Linked DNA regions of Homo sapiens: all the other regions are linked to region 3. The links are contacts of gene promoters, found by promoter capture Hi-C in blood cells and fetal thymus (Javierre and others, 2016). All regions are on one chromosome and are shown on one strand. The core of a region is centred on a gene start or on the middle of the fragment in contact, and the rest is flanking DNA. Distances in the headings are between cores, read along the strand shown. Region 1 holds the start of TBRG4 (transforming growth factor beta regulator 4). Region 2 overlaps GLI3 (GLI family zinc finger 3). Region 3 holds the start of COA1 (cytochrome c oxidase assembly factor 1).

What was found. Contacts are between HindIII fragments. The CHiCAGO score rates a contact against its expected background, and 5 or more counts as called.
Region 1: a contact is called between the fragment with the promoter of TBRG4 here and the fragment with the promoter of COA1 in region 3, in 11 of 17 cell types (total CD4 T cells, activated CD4 T cells, fetal thymus and 8 more). The highest score is 19.7, in total CD4 T cells.
Region 2: a fragment that was not itself captured here is called in contact with the fragment with the promoter of COA1 in region 3 in 2 of 17 cell types (total B cells and naive B cells); the score reaches 7.8 in total B cells.

What each region holds. Positions count from the first base shown.
Region 1 is chr7:45,110,260-45,113,861 of GRCh38, forward strand. TBRG4 (transforming growth factor beta regulator 4) reads right to left here and starts at 1,438. Exons shown (of 11, transcript NM_004749.4): 1 at 1,384-1,438. RefSeq lists enhancers at 1,137-1,846, 1,210-1,965. The HindIII fragment of the contact is 1,963 bases long and covers 602-2,564 here.
Region 2 is chr7:41,973,967-41,977,595 of GRCh38, forward strand. GLI3 (GLI family zinc finger 3) reads right to left here. Exons shown (of 15, transcript NM_000168.6): 12 at 3,592-3,629. Among named protein-coding and RNA genes, the nearest start is that of GLI3, 260 kb to the right of the region's middle. The HindIII fragment of the contact is 1,214 bases long and covers 1,773-2,986 here.
Region 3 is chr7:43,727,342-43,730,871 of GRCh38, forward strand. It overlaps COA1 (cytochrome c oxidase assembly factor 1), which reads right to left and starts at 2,182. Exons shown (of 6, transcript NM_018224.4): 1 at 2,088-2,182. RefSeq lists enhancers at 1,468-2,197, 2,198-2,926, 2,293-2,492. The HindIII fragment of the contact is 9,306 bases long and covers 1-2,835 here.

The sequences.
Region 1 (3,602 bases), core at 188-2,687, 1.4 Mb after region 3:
TGGGTCTCCTCCTCCCCCTATAAGACCCTTTAAAATACATCTCATCCTTCCAAGGCCAAACTCAATGTTGCCATCTCCAGCAATGTGTTACATATAGCCTTGATGTTGCTTTTAACAATTCTATCGGCCAGGCGCAGTGGCTCACGCCTGTAATCCCAGTACTTTGGGAGGCTGAGGCGGGCAGATCACGAGGTCAGGAGATCGAGACCATCCTGGCTAACACGGTGAAACACCGTCTCTACTAAAAATACAAAAAAATTAGCCGGGCGTGGTGGCGGGCACCTGTAGTCCCAGCTACTAGGGAGGGTGAGGCAGAGCTTGAAGTGAGCCGAGATCGCGCCACTGCACTCCAGCCTGGGTGGCAGAGCGAGACTCTGTCACAAAAAAAAAAAAAAAGAAAAAAAATTCTATCAGCTAGTCTAGCTCCCTACGGTGATTACATGATCCAGGGAAGACATGCGACAAGGGCAAGATAAAACGTTCACCTAGGCCTCATTTCTGCCAAAGCAGAATGTACGTTTGATCTTTCTCCACTTCCTGGAACTTGGTATATGGCCAGCACATTTTCTTTTTATATGAGGGGATTAAAGCAGCTGTAAAAAGCTTAGTCTAACTCCACTTAAAGAAAAAAAAAAAGAGAGAGAGATCAGAGAGTCGGAGTATTTGCCCAAACGCAACATCTACCACTTCCTGAGCCTAAGCACAGTGTAGAAATCTTTCCGACTTATTTTTTTGAGACGGAGTCTCGCTCTGTCGCCCAGACTGGAGTGCAATGCTGCGATCTCGAGTCACTGCAACCTCAGCCTCCCGGATTCAAGCGATTCTCCTGCCTCAGCCTCCCAAATAGCTGGGACTACAGGCCCGCGCCACCACACCTGGCTAATTTTTGTATTTTTAGTAGAGACAGGGTTTCACCATGACCTCAAGTGATCCACCCGTCTCGGCCTCCCAAAGTGCTGGGATTACCGGAGTGAGCCACCGCGCCCGGCCGCCTTTCCAATTTTTTAAGAGCCCTAAGAGCAGTTTAGCCGAGTAAACGGAAGCCCAGGAGCCAGACTTGAGTTTAGGCAAACAGCAATCCAAAACTTTAGTTCTAAAATGCAGAGAGAAAACAACTTGCACTAAGTCACGAAAACTGGCTCGCTGGGGTCATGGACGGTCAACAGGGGCGGCGTCTTCCAGGCCTGGCCGCGCGGGCTAGAGAGGAAGCGTGCGCACTGGCAAGCCAGCACGGAACGAGCAGACGGCCAGGCCCACGGCATCCCACCGCGTCCCAGCCTGCTCCCCAGTTCCACCGCATCCCAGGACCTTCCCAGCCACGCCTGTGTTGTGCACTCGAAACCCACGATCAGCCGCCCCTTCTCCCCGTGCCACAAGACCTACGCAGCGAGCACCACCGCTGACCTCCATCCGCCGCCCTAACTGTCCCCGGAACCATGAGGTGCGCGGCGCGCTTCCCTACGTCACTCGGAGCGCCGGCGGAAACGAGACGAGCCTCGCCCCGCACGTCCGGAAGCCACGCCTCCAGCTTCCGGCCACACCTTTCGGCGGGTGACATCTTTGCTGAGGGCTCAAGCGGAGCGATAGGTCATGGGAAACTTAGAAAAGATAAAGAACCTAGGAAGAAAGGCTTCGGTTGCCCCCCGACCAGTACGCCATCCTCATACGGAGTGCGGGAGACGACCCTTTGTTGTCGGTGCTGTCACCCTATCCCTCCCTGCTTGCGTAGGCGTAGGAGAGTTCCTAGGGCGGTGGAAGACTGGGCTGGTGGAGTGGGATAGGCGACGTTGAGGCCTGTGGGGGCTGGGAGGACGAGTGAGTGGAGACTGGGGAACTCCAGAGCGCCCACTTGCAGCTGGATTTTTATGTGCAATTTTCCTGATTTTTAAATAGTGGTGTTTAATTACAAAGTAAAGTGCAGGATAGCCCAAACGAAATGTATCTGAGGTCTATATATGGACTTGATTAATTTTTACTTCCTGCACAGCCTTTTATTTTCTGTGGAGTTAATAATTACTTGGCTACGCACGGTGGCTCACGCCTGTAATCCCAGGCCTCGGTGGGCGGATCACTTGAGTTCAGGAGTTCGAGACCAGCTTGGCCAACATGGCGAAACCCCGTCTCTACTAAAAATACAAAAAAATTAGCCGGGCGTGGTAGGGCGCACCTGTAGTCCCAGCTACTAGGGAGGCTGAGGCATGAGAATCGCTTGAATCCGGGAGGTGGAGGTTGCAGTGAGCAGCGATCTTGCCACTGCACTCAGCCTGGTTGACAGAGCAAGACTCTGTCGCAAAAAACAAAACAAAAAACATAAAAATAAATAATTACGTTTGTTTGTGTTTGTAAACTAAAAATAAAATTGTAAGCCCCCCAAGCACTGAACGGACCTCCTCTTAGCCAAGGAGACCCCAGAGAAACCTTAAAAACTGAGTTCCCAGCCATTCTGGAAAGGGAGGTTGAACACCCCTTGTTAAAGTAGAGATCATAAGACTAACAGACTTTGTGGTAGTAAGATACCAAATTATAAACAAGACCTAAGGCCGTGCAAGGCAAGGGTTAAGTCAAGCTTGCAGACCATCAATCTTGCTGAAGAGGTCTTTTTTGACCCAGTGTATTGTGGCTGATTCTGGCATACTATCTTAAACATTCTTTTCTGCTGACTCCAAATTTTACACAGAGCCTCACTCTTTTAACCAGTTGCAAATTAAAAAATCTCTTGGTCAAGCTGGCTGAGGTGGGAGGATCACTTGAGGCCAAGAGTTCAAGACTAGCCTGGGCAACATAGGGAGACCCTATCTACCCCTACCAAGAGATCTATCTATCTATCTATCAATCAATCATATATCGTGTATATATCTATGTATTTGAGTCCACATATAACTTGTAAACCCCCCACATCAAGACATCCTGTCTTTTGGAGCCAAACCAGTGTATACCTTCCACACATTGATTTATGTCTTTGCCTGTAACCCCTGGCTCCCTGAAATGTATAAAACCAAACTATAATCTGACTGCCTCGGGAACACTTAAGGCTTTTTGGGTTTGTATTTTCCTGGGGCTGTGGTCACTCATTGGCCCTGAATAAACCTCTTTAAGTAATTTACAGAGTTTGATTTTTCTGTTAACAGTTAATTAAGATTCCATGTATTTATCACAAATTCTACTCCAAATCCTTCACAAGTTGTCTGTCAAAAGACAATATTACAACAGATTTATAGATCTGTTAAAAGAAAAGCTTTAGACAAACTAATGGAGTTTTGTTGAGGAAAGAACCTTGAAAACATGCTAAGGGAAAGAAGTTAGACACATGAGGCCACATATTGTATAGTTCCATTTATATTTGCAATGTCCAGAGTAGGTGAATTGATAGAGTCACCTATGTGATGTTGAGGTGGGGAGAATAGGGAGTGACTTCTGATGGGTTTGAGGTTTCTTTTTGAGATGGTAAAAGTGTCCTGGAATTGGATAATAGGGATGGTTGCACAACACTGAGTATACTAAAAGCCACCTGTGACTTAAGAAATATATATGTGGTCTCTGCATAGAGCTTCTAAAACCCTTGTAACTTTTTTCTTTAGGTTTTCATTAAGGCATTTTATAAA
Region 2 (3,629 bases), core at 1,130-3,629, 1.8 Mb before region 3:
AAAGACTGGCTCTGATAATTAGTGCCATTACCTTACAGTGTTCTGACACAGGCCCTATGCTTGCTCACAGCATTCCTGTGACAGGTTGTTCCATCAACAGGCAGACTGGGATATATGGGGCAGAGGTATGGAGACCAGAAGGAGAGAGGGAGCACAAAGCCTGCATGTTTGGAGAGCTACTCTTCCTGTAAATATATGGATGTACATTATGGGTTAGCTTAGAACCAAGGACGCAGCCAATATGTAATGAGATACAAATGTGTCGGCTCCTGCACTTCCAGAAACAACAGCCCATACAGGTGCACCTGTGCCCGTGTGCCCTTGTGTGTGAACATACACATTATCTACCCACAAAAATTCACAAATTCACAAGAATACAGGTTCAGGAAATGTATACCTCACAACAACATAACATAAACAAAATATATTAACCCTTCACACAACTTTTGCCCACAAATTTTGTTGTGATCAGTGACTGAAATAAAATATAATTAGAGACTAAGAAAAATGTTCTCAGACTTACTGAAGTGCAAGATTCTGCAAGCACAAAGTTGCATACAACAAAATTTAATCATAAGGAATACAAAATCTGATAGGAAAAATAAGAAGATGCAATGATCTGTAATATAAAGTGTGAAAGCTATGTAAGGATATAGACAGAGGAGGGATCATTTTTCAGCTAGGATAATCATGGGAGGCATCAGTTATTAAGATTCTATATCTGGGCTTAATGCCCAGCTCACGGGATTATCAGTAAGTGCTAAATTAGATCATGTACATGAAGTGCTTACCAGGATGCATGGAACATAGTAAGCACTCAATATACAGAGCTTTTATTAGGAGTCATTTTACTTGGGATGCCAAAAAGAAGTGTCCTCAGCAAAGGTCCAGTGGCAGAACCACTTCATGCACCTAAGCATGGCAGTGCACAGCACCAGCTTCTGGAAGGTTTCATTCATGGTCATGATAGTGAGAGGTCAGGACTAGAGGGATGAGCTTGGGCCCTGTGAGAACTGACACTTACACAACCTTAGGGAGTCTCAAGTCTCCCTATAGGAAAGAGGGAGCCATTGCAGCTTTCTAGAGAGGGAGGTTCAACCGAATCAGAGCTCAGGAAACTTGTTTAGCGGTATCTTTGGGGGAAAAATGAGCTGTCTGATCTGGAGTAAGAAGTCCTGTCAGAGCTACGGTCAGTCTAGCAGCCCTAAATGAGCAGGACAGCCAGAGGAACAGAGAAGTGCCAGCAATTACTCCCTTCCCATTACAGTCCATTATTTTCTTGGCCACACTTAGAACAGCAAAGGGCTTGGCACATAAATAGCTTTAAGTATTTGTTCAATGAATAAATGAAGTTGCAAATAAGAGAGGAAATAAATGAAGGCAAATCACTTGATTCATCTAGGATTGTGAAATTGCACAAATCTGGATTTCCTGGACAAACTTAGTTTTGATGCGTCTGAAAATGTCCATCAGTCACACACAGGGCCAAAGTCTTGCATATAGAAGAGAGAAGTATAATTTGTTTGTAAATATGTCTGTGGGTAGAATTTTAATTATGTATTTATGATAAAAGTTAGTAATTTAAGTAAATTGCTCAAGTGTGGTCAATGACATTACTACCCAAGATATCCTTATCTTTTAATCTTATAACAAACACTCAACTCTCACACAACATTGCACTTTTTACCTTGGAGAAGAACACAAGCTCAACTACACCACAATTAAAGCAAACAGACATGTACAAATATTTTAGGTCCATAAAAAGACAAAAAAGCTTGGTAATTGTCTTTATATGTGTGCATTCTGATCCTAACATACCCTCTGTCCAAACTTCTCCATGATAATAGGAGACAGCATTGGCCTAACATCTATAGGAATGAATGCCCCCTAAATTTCTAGTCAAAATTACACTTAAATCTATGAAATATATGAAATACATTCTGTTAAGTCAAAACCCCTTAAAATTTTAAATTGAAATATAATTCACATGCCATAAAAATAATCCCTTTAAATTGCACAATTCAGTGGCATTAGTACATTCTAGACATTGTGTAATCATCACCATTACCTAATTCCAGAATATCTTCACCACCCCAACAAAAAAACCTTGTATCCATTAGCAGTCATCACTATTCCCTCTCCCCTCTGCTTTTGGCAACCACTGATCTACTTTCTATCTCTATGTATCTATCTATTCTAGACTCCCTAAAATTTTGTACAAAACAAGTGTAATAGATTATATTCCAGCTACTGCATACTGTAAAAGCATTTTTACATTAAAAATGGAGATGTGGCATCTTTAAAATGTCTTCAAACAGTTAGAAAATGAGATTCCGAATAACTCCAGTTTCCATGACCTTTTCACACAGAAAGTTGGTATATATATGAACTTACATGTGTGAGTTTATGAGTGAGTGTGCTTTTTACAGAGTGCAGTTAATCCCTTTAGAGATGTTTTTGCTCTGTCAGTTTCAGCTGAAGAAAACATGGTGAGAACCATCTTTGCCACCTTAAAGCCAAAAGTCCACTGAGCAGAATGGCTCACTTTGTTTCTATCAAGATTCTCTCTGCCCAGCTCTCTGTCTGAAAGATCATGAATGTGTTTGACCTGCACTGGTGAGATGAAATGACAGCCACTCCAGGGTCTCATGTGTGCACGATGTTCCTTCTCTAACACATTTCAAGCAAACTGATGACACGCTGTGGTGCTGAACTATGTCTCATGTTAACAAATTCTGGTTAGCTATCCTATTTCCACTCAAAATGTGGGGAGTCCTTTTGTTAATCTCTCAATACATTCAAGAGAAGATTTCACAGACAAGCCAGAATTTGAGCTAGACCTCCAAGGCCAAATTGGAAGTCTGTAGGAAGATGTTCACTAAAATGTAAGCAATGAATTTGGAATAATTTTTATTCTTATGCCTCTCTACAATTTAGGGGGGATCGCTACCTAAAAATAACAGTAACACAACAGGAATCACCCTGAAGCTTTACTCAATATGTTTTCTTAAGTAACTGCCTAGAAAGTATTCTGGGTTTCTGAGACCATTTTCCAAGATCCTTTGGAATTTAGAATGTCTGAAAATTGCATTTAGCCAAGGCTGGTTGCTCTGTAAAAATCTTTTTTGATATAATACCATTTGAAGATACCACTTGGAGGAAGCAAATAAAAGTGGATGACTTAGCAGGAAGCTGTCAGCTGTCAACATGCTACTTCTTAATATATCCTTGGGGCTTATGGGGTCATCCTTTGCATGGATTCCTGCTATTTTGGGCAGCGTGACTGGCTCAGATTCCAAGTCAAATGCTCCCACTGTTTGACCAGTAGGTGGCAGTTCAAAACAACATGAAACTAGTAAGTTCGCAGGGGTTTTAAGAAGTTTCCTCCTCATCTCTTATTATTCTCCAAATAAGATCCAGTTTCCAGTCCCACCTAGGAAGCTCAAGCCTTCACCTGCAGGGGCAGAGCCCCTCATGCTGGGAATGGCCAAGGGGAAAACAAAACAGAACACACTGCGCCTTCCCATGTGCCTTCCCCGGGATAGTTCTTTGTTTCCTTATGCAAGCTCCATGCCCACTGAGGATGCTTACCTCATTGGAATGCGTTCTGTTTTGGTGTTTGGCGCGAT
Region 3 (3,530 bases), core at 932-3,431:
TATGACCCAGCCATTTCACTCCTAGGCACATACGCAAGAGAAATGAAAACATGATGTCCACACAAAAACTTGTAGGTGAATGTTCACAGCAGCATTACACATAATGGCCAAAAGGTGGAAACAATCCAAACGTCCACTAACTAATGGAAAATAAATCGTGGTAATACCCATAAAAGATTAACCAGCAATAAAAAAAAGTACTGACACATGCTATTAAATACAACACAGATGAACATGAATGTTAAGTAAAAGAAGCCAGTTGAAAAAGACCACATGCTGTATGATTTCACTCACATGAATAATCCAGAATAGTCAAATATACAGTCAGTCAATTCATAGTTGCTTAGGGCTTAGAATGGGGAGTGGGGATGGGGAAGTCAGGTGAGCCTGCTGAATAAGTACAGGGTTTCCTTTTGGAGTGATGAAAATGTTCAATTGTTCCAATATGGCTCTCACAAACTGAATGCAGCATATTAAACATGAACAAAAGAATACAAGAATAACTTATTGGAGTCTGTCTGAAATAGAAAATTAAACCAACTAATGAAGGTGAAGAAGATTACAGCATATTTTATGATGATGGTTGTACAACTTTGTGAATGTACTAATGTACTAATTACTTTTAGGTTTTCTTTCTTTTTTTTTTTTTTTGAGATGGAGTCTAGCTCTCTCGCCCAGGCTGGAGTGCAGTGGCGCAATCTCGGCTCACTGCAAGCTCCACCTCCCGGGTTCACACCATCCTCCTGCCTCAGCCTCCCAAGTAGCTGGGACTACAGGCTCCCGCCACCACGCCCGGCTAATTTTTTGTATTTTTAGTGGAGACGGGGTTTCACCGTGTTAGCCAGGACGGTCTTGATCTCCTGACCTCGTGATCCACCCGCCTCGGCCTCCCAAAGTGCTGGGATTACAGGCGTGAGGCACCGCTACGTTTTAAATGGTGAACTCTACGGTAGGTGAACTATGTGTCAGGAAGCTGTTTTATTTTTTTAAAGGACTGAAGACTTTTGTTTTGTGTTTTGTTTTGTTTTCATTTTATCCCGTTTTTAAAACAGTGCCTAGCAATATTATGAATTCAATCGATTTTGGCTAAATGCTAGAACAAAAATTAAAACTTGAGTAAACCATATAAAACTTTGCCATATCTAAAGTTATTAAATTACCGTAGACTGGCATGGTGGGAGCATAATATGAGTGTACCTGCAGGTGTGTTTTCCATGAAAGTAGCAAAGACTGAAAAACTCAGCAGAATCAAGACCCTGTAGGCCCTTGAAGTTAGGCTAAGAAATGTGTATTATCCTGAAAGCAACGGGAAGGCCAGGAAGATTCTGAGGACAGAAATAACACAATCTGATATGCGTTTTAAACGTGCAGGTGTAAGCGGAGAGTTGCTACTTCTATCCAAACGTGAGCCACCTCAGAAATAAAGCAATAGCCCTCCGGGGAGAATGGGGAGGAATCAGGGGAAGACCGGAGAAACAGGTTATCAAATTATCAGAATCTCCATAGATTTTTTTAAATTACACAGCATCCACCCCCAAACACACATACAGACTGATAGGCACTGATATATACATAAATACATCCAATGTCCCCTACACAGAAAATCACTTTTGCAGTCAGCCCCTGTTGGGAGGGTTTTTCTGTTATTCAAGTGTGGTGGGGACAAAAAGTATTATAACCACTAAACCAGGTAATTCTTTCCTACAATAATTTGGGCAGCGTACTCCTCAGGGTGTTGAAATTTAGCACTACCAACAAAAGTGCCCAGTCCCAACTCTTCGAGAGGACCCTAACTCTTTACAGTGTGCTGTTGGGGATGGTCAGCAAAAACTGCAGGACAAGGTCAAGGTTAGCTCGACACAGCCTCCTAACTCCGAGCGGACGGAGCCACTGAAGGTTACCAGGTGCCAAAGAAGCTGCGCAGGGAGGCCGCGACCCGGCGCCGGCGCGAACCTCCGCGATGTGACCCGTGAGGGAACTCTCCAAGAAGCAGCGCACCCCGCGCGCAAAGGCGGCCCCCCGAATTGCAGGAACAAACGCTTCTTGCTGGGGGGAAGACGGAGACTCTTATACCGCGGGAGACTAACCTGTGAGCAACAGAAGCACCACGCTACAAAGAGCATGACGAGTTCTTCCAGGCTTGGGAAAGCACGGGTAAATGCCCGCGGTCCTGCGCGCCAGCGGGGAGCAGTAGAGACTTCCGGCGTCGGCTGCTCGCAGGGCTAGAGCGTCGAACCGGGACAACCGGAGGCTTCAGCTCACCTCGGATTGTAAATGCTAACACGGGTCCTCCGGCCGGCTGATCCAGAACTTAGGTCGCCGGGACGTGTGGCTTCTGCTTCTCAGACGCTCGGACTCGCGCCGGGAAGGGTTTCGCCTCCCCTGGTCCCCGCTTTTTTTTTTTTTTTCTGCGTCCGGTTATTGCAAATGCATTCAGTCCAGTAGCACTAGCCCAGGAAATATAAGCCACCGGCTCACGTTGCTCCTCACAGGTATGCGGCGCTTCCGCTGGCCTCCAAGGACACGAAGCCCCGGGCCGTCTGGCCCCCCACTCTAGCACTGAAATTCCTGCCGCCCCGTTCAGCTGACAAATTTGGCAGCACTAAATTTTATTTTATTCGACAAATTAAGTACCCAGTTAACACCAGGGAGTAACGGGGTAAGAAAATTTCAGAAGGCTGGTGGATAATAATAGCATTTACCTCATAAATTTGTTATGAGGATGTGAAGCACTTAGAGTAGTGTCTGGCAGTTTGTAGGCGCTCAGTAACTGTTAGCTGTTATTATTTTTATATTGATTATTCCATAGTCACCACTATTATCACCTTAATGTCAAGCTTGAAATCCAGTATCTTTCCTCTGCGAAGCCATCACTCCAAGACTAATTAACTTTAGACTGGGGCATTCTTCTTTAAACTCTTGCTCACACATCCCTATCAGAAAAAATATATATATATTTACATGTGTCATGTATGGCATTAATATATTATGCATGCTATAAAACTCACAAGACATCAAACTTTTGATGAGGTAAAAACAATTTTTAAACTTTTTTAAAAACTTCTAACAGAAGTTCTTTTCTTCCTCCACAACAATTAGGTTGCCAAACATACATTCTATCACTCTGGAATCCACTAGCTAAATGAGCACATTATCAAAGCAACCTACCGCTGAATTCTGACTTCCCAGAATGTTTCTTTTCCAAAGAATTAATAGAAACTAATCAGATTGTGAAGTGCTCGGCCATAAGGACTATTTAAATGGTTCTTAGAGAAAAAGAAGAAATAAAATAGGCATCCACTGAGTAATATTCATTGATGCAACATTGATTATTGACTTATTACATTTTCAAAGAGATTGAGGTTATAATACCTTACACCAAGCTTAATATTTCAAAGAATAAATCAACTAATAAAAAGCTTATGAGGTTTGGTATATGTGCATTTCATACAACGTTCATGAAAATGAACCCGAGATCAATTAGCTCCCGTTCTGTACCAGAAAGAGAAATATGTTTACTTTGTAAGTAA